2 separate regions of the Homo sapiens genome follow, and region 1 is linked to region 2. The links are contacts of gene promoters, found by promoter capture Hi-C in human tissues and cell types (Jung and others, 2019). All regions are on one chromosome and are shown on one strand. Each heading gives the region's core, a stretch centred on a gene start or on the middle of the fragment in contact. The rest is flanking DNA. Distances are from core to core; before and after follow the strand shown. Region 1 has its middle 15 kb from the start of DACT2. Region 2 holds the start of SMOC2 (SPARC related modular calcium binding 2).

The links. The method cuts DNA at HindIII sites, captures the fragments that hold promoters and counts their contacts. A contact is called where the count stands out against the background at its distance.
Region 1: a contact is called between a fragment that was not itself captured here and the fragment with the promoter of SMOC2 in region 2, in 2 of the 25 tissues and cell types used here (bladder and spleen).

What each region holds. Positions count from the first base shown.
Region 1 is chr6:168,303,250-168,305,949 of GRCh38, forward strand. It overlaps a transcript of DACT2 not described here. Among named protein-coding and RNA genes, the nearest start is that of DACT2, 15 kb to the right of the region's middle. The HindIII fragment of the contact is 6,763 bases long and covers 1-2,700 here.
Region 2 is chr6:168,439,802-168,442,569 of GRCh38, forward strand. It overlaps SMOC2 (SPARC related modular calcium binding 2), which reads left to right and starts at 1,383. Exons shown (of 13, transcript NM_001166412.2): 1 at 1,383-1,653. The coding sequence starts at 1,570. The HindIII fragment of the contact is 15,076 bases long and covers 1-2,768 here.

The DNA of each region.
Region 1 (2,700 bases), core at 1-2,500, 140 kb before region 2:
CTGCTATGGTTTGCGTGTGGTTTGTCTCCACCAAAACCTCTGCCAAAATTTGAAATTTGATCCCCAATGTGGTGGTGTTGGGAGGTGGGTCCTGGAGGTTTCTGGGTCATGGGGGCAGAACCCTCATGAATAGACCAACACAGTCCCTCAGAGCTAAGTGAGTTCTCGCTCTGGCGGAATGGCCTAGTTCCCGAGAGAGCAGGTGATTAAAAGAATGGCTTCCTCGGCTTCTGTCTCTTGCTTCTTCTCTCACCATGTGTCTCTTTACACACGCCCGGTCCCCTTCTGCTTTCTACCGTGGGTAGAAGCAGCATAAAGGCCTTATCAGATGCCACTGCCTGTCTAACTTTCCAGCCATGCATATCATGAGCCAAATAAGCCTTTTTTCTTTTTCAATTACCCAGTTCTGTTACAGCAACACAAAATGGACCAAGACAGGCTTTAATTATTCTACAAGCTGGAGCAAGAGGATGTAGAGAGAAAACTTTGCTGGGGTGCCCGCTTATATTCCTGAATTTGATCAGTAATGATACGCTCTGTTTTCTTCAATGATAACGTATGATTTGCTAAAGTAGGTTGGGACATTTTCCCTAATATTATAATTAAATCTTTCACAAATTCTTATAATTTAGAATTCCTGACATATTTTTTACTTTAGCTTAACTTTAATTCTTTATCCTTTCATTTTAGGATAGAAGAGGATAGGATATTTTAGGATAGAAAGGATAAAGAGCAACTTTATCCTGTTATTTTTATTTTTGTTAAAATATTTTTATTGTAAGCATGCTAGAAGTTAGTTCTAAAGACCCCGGAAGTCAAATTCTACATTGTCTACTTTTTAATCACTTGAGAGAGAGGGAAACAGCTCCTCTGTCTTCCAACGCACTTGAAGTCTGCCCCCGTCATCTAATCAATCACACCCCCTCAAATGACAGGCCACGCTCTGCCTTAGTGGGCTTCCTGGTTCATTTCTGCTTCTGTGTGAGTGGTTACAATTATGTCTGTTTAGAGGAAAAATATGCACAGAACATAAGACATTCAGGAGACGAATGTTCACCACAGGGCATCTCCATCCATCCTCTTTCTGCGCGCCTGCCTGGGCCACCTGGCCTTCTTGCAATATCCCTGTTCTCTGAATTCACAGTGCTTAAGACTCTGCCACGCCCATCAGCACCCTGTCGTCAGCCCTCTCAAAAACGGGCTTCTTATGACTGGCGTTCTAATTGTTAACTGTGTTTTAAAGCATTTCCCCAGGCTGCTATCTGCCCTGGGCCTGCACGTGGCATCTGCCCGCTCTTCCTGGTGGTGCCTGGGCGATGTTTGCAGATGGGTCAGGGAGGCTCACCAACTCTGCACACTATAGGGAGGCCATAACCTGGGCCGACTCACCCCTTGCCCCTACTGTGGGGAGCACAGACAGATGTGGGTCCCATTTTCAAACTGCCAGCTTACGCCTCCTTCCAAATCCTGAGGAGCTATCAGCTTCATTTGATGAAGGAGGAAGCCGACTCAGCCAGGCTATGAGGAGGCCAGGCGGGATGGGAACTGGAGACAGAGCTGTCCTCCTGTCCTGGGCTGCCTGGTCCCGCAGAACACTGAGCGGAGGCAAGGAGCCAGGGTGCCGGGTAGACGGGGCAGGAGGGCTAGGGAACCCTCCGAGGACCCCCATGGAATCTGTGAGAATTCTACTTCTTTACTCCAAAGCTACTGGAGAGTAGAAGAGCACTGGCAAGGCCTTGGGCCTCAGGCAAACTGAAATGCATGTTTGGGCCTCCACAGTTAAAATGGGGGAGAAAGAGAGAGCATGAGAGAGGGAGAGAGAGAGAAAGCAAAAGCCAGAGAGCACATTATTGAGGAAGAGAGAGAGGATGGAGAGACAAGGGAAGGAGAACGATTGATTGATTGATTGATTTGGACTGTCAGATCACTGAGGACCCTTCCTGCCCCCGATGCAACGGCTGCATTTTGTCTGGAGTCTGCATGGTTCTCCTGGTCAGCTTGCAGGACTGTGCGGAGCAGGAAGGAATTCGCTTGGCTGGAATGCACCCCTCCGGGCTGCAGGTTGGAAGCTGAATGTCTAGGAAACCACGCCTAGCTTTCTAAAAGACGGGCACTGTCAGAAAACCCTGAGGAGCCCAGACCCACTGCACTCACTCTCCTTATGGGCTGATTCCCTGTGATCTTGGCCTGCAACACGGAGTCGGAGCTGCCTAGAGTTGTGATACAAGCTAGGTCACCACGGAGGATGAACAGGAAGTTTGCACTTTCTGGAGAGTGCACTCAAGCTCCTGCGAAAAGCACCAATGAGTGAGCAGAATGTGTGACTCAATGGAACTTCCTAGCCACGTCTTCAGCCCGGTAGCTACAAAAACATGCGTGGACTGAGGCTGCGCCCACAGTCCTCAGTGAGGACGAGGACTCAGGCTACGGGGCTGTCGTCACAGCCTCACCTGCTAAGTGGTCCTGGAGAAGCCACGCTTCATTATAAAAATGTTGTCATTTTTATAAAATACCCTGTGAATTAACTTTTACAATAACACCCCCATCCATGAGTGGGTTTGAATCATCCTTTTAAATTTCAATGCAGGTGTTTAGAAAGCTTGAGGAAGATTCTGGCCTTCTGTTAGGAAGCAGATTTCAGGAAGGGCAGGTGAAATTGCACACAGACGAGCTCAATGGGTGTTTGAATCTGTCTGCTCT
Region 2 (2,768 bases), core at 133-2,632:
TCAAGAGTTTTATTATAATTTCCTTCTAAGTCCTTAAACCAGGAGGAATGTGTTTAAGTGCTTAATAGATTCCCTGGGCTTTGGAATTTTAAGGAGAATTCTGAGAGTAGCCCTCCTTCAGGAAAAGGTGCATTTCTTTCCCGTCTTTCCGTGGCCCGACGGACATCACTTTCCTGATAAAATTGTGTGGGAAAGGTTGCAATAGCATTGCCTTTGCCTCAGCAGCCAGTCCCAGAACTTGCTGATACAGCCCCCTCCCCCAAAGTTCATAGCCAAAGCAGTGGGCTAGACATCGGATGAAACCTCAGATTTGGATTTTCTGTGTTTTGTGCTTTTCCCAATGCCCCTGACAAGTCAATTGATTCATTGTTCTTGAACAAATCTTCACTCTTCTGGCTTTCTGTGTGAGACAGAATTAGGGCTTTTTCCTGTAAAGTTATAAGCCAAGGCTAAACTATGTCAGCAATGTTGTCTGCAGTGGATATTATCCAGAGTCTGGGTGTGCAAAAATTTCCTGGTTTCCAACGTAGTCTTCGTGGGTGAGTTTACAACCTCCACAAGCCCTGTGCTCCCCGCACAAACACCTGAAATGCTTTGACAGAGCTGTTTAAAAACAGCCACATGTGTCTGTGAATGATGCCCAACCACATGCTCCCCCGACTTGAGAGGATCAAGGCTACAGCCCAGGTCAGACCCCGGATCTTTAGGACCTAAATTCCCCCATCCCTGCAGTGGATAACCCCGTGTAAAGATGCCAAAGGCGGGCTGCCCCCGGCGCAGCCTTTCCTGGACATGTGTTCCCAGCTGCCTTTGCTGGAGCGCCGCTGATCCTTCAGCACCTCTGAGAGGCAATGTTCTGGGCTGGACCAGGGGGCCTTAGAGGGCAGAGGTCAAGGAGAACCCCGGAGTCTGGGGACCGGCCAAGGCTTGGCGTTAACCTTTGTGGATGAAAAGTCCCGCTGGGCTGATCCTGCGCGGACCGGGCCTGGACCCTGGGGCGTGAGGAGGGCGCGGTGCGTCCCGTGGTTGTGCTTGGAAGCCCCCCGAGGGTGCGCGCGCGTGGGTATGAGTGCGTGCGTGTGCCTGGGTGTGCGTGTGTGTAAGTGTGCACGTGTGTGTGTGAGAGTGCGCGCGGGGAAGGAGGCACAGAGACAGCCCGGACAGGCCACTGCGCAGCCCTGGTGGCCCCCGCTCCACCTCTCGCTCCGCAGACCCGCGCCAGGGAGGCCTCTGGGCCGCAGCGGGCACCGGAGCGGAGCGGGCGCGGCAGCGGGCGCTGGGAGGTGGGGCTGGGGGAGGAGAGGGGGAGGGAGAGAGGCGGGCGGGAGGGGAGGATCCGGGAAGCTCCGGGGTATTTGACAGGAGCGAGGGCGGACGCAAAGAACGCGGAGGACCTCTGGGTGCCTGCAGGGGAGCTGCTCCAGCCGGGCCGCCGGGAGCGGTGGGGAGAGCATCGCGGAGCCGCCCCTCCACGCGCCCGCCCAGCCGCGCTCGCCCACTGGGCTCTCCCGGCTGCAGTGCCAGGGCGCAGGACGCGGCCGATCTCCCGCTCCCGCCACCTCCGCCACCATGCTGCTCCCCCAGCTCTGCTGGCTGCCGCTGCTCGCTGGGCTGCTCCCGCCGGTGCCCGCTCAGAAGTTCTCGGCGCTCACGGTAAGCCCGGGCCCGCGGGACCTGGAGCTCAAGTGGTGCCGCCTCTTGCAGCCGGCCGGGTTCGGGTCCCCGCGCCCCGCTCCAGGCCCAGGCGCCTGGGCACGGGGAGCAGGTGGCCCCGGGGGCCGTGGAGCCTTCGCCTGCCGGCGAGGCTGGAGCAGGTAGGACGCAGCGTGCGCGCCTGGGACCCGGCTGGGATGGGCTTCTGGGGACCCTGCCCGCCGGGGTCCTGCTGCGGCTGCGACGGGCTCCTCGGGTTCCACCCGGCTGGGACCCCACCTGCCTCGGGGGCTCTGACCCGGCTGTGAGAGGATCCTGGGGTCCTGCAGACCCCGGACAAGTGGGAGCTGCGGGTGCGCTCGGGTGTCCCGCACTCACTGCTGGGCCTGAGCCTGTGGGGAACCAGGTCTGGGAGCGCCGGCGCCGCCCCGCGGACTGTCCCAAGGCCAAGACAGACCCGCCGGGACTGGGCGCCCACCTCGCCCACGGGGACCCGGCCTGGAGCGTGTTCTCCCGACCGCTTTGGGCTCGTGCGCCGCGCGGATCCCGGGCCTCTCGCCGGCTGAAGGGGCTGCCAGTCGTGGGCCCCACTCGTGGGTCTGACTCTCCCAGAGACCCTCGTAAGTGAGCCGAGGAAGAAGCAGATGAGGTTACAGATGATTCTTCACGGGCCTGAGTGTTATTAGAGAAGCGCTTTCTTCCCTTCTCAGGACAGAACTGGAGGCAGGCGGCGGCTCCCCGCTCTGCGGGGCCTCTGGGTTCTTCCTCGTGGCAGGGATGCTGCGCTCCTGAGCGCGAGGGTCACCGCGGTTGACCGCTGTGTGTTTTTCTTTCTGAGCTGTAACTTCTATGCGACAGCCTTGGCCCGGCCAACGCACGCGGTGTCAAACGAGGAGCTATGTAGAGGGGGCTGAGCCAAGCCCCCGCCGGCCAAGCCAACCCGCGGCGGCCGCTGGGCCAAGGCCGGGTGTCTGCAGCCCCCAGCTCCAGCCGTCCTCCTGGGCTTGCAGGGTTTGCAAACCCATCATTAATGCAATCGCCAGAAACGAAAACATTCCACTTAAATGTGTTTTTGAACAAGTGTTTGAGAAAACACGAAGGTAGTGAGAACGCCT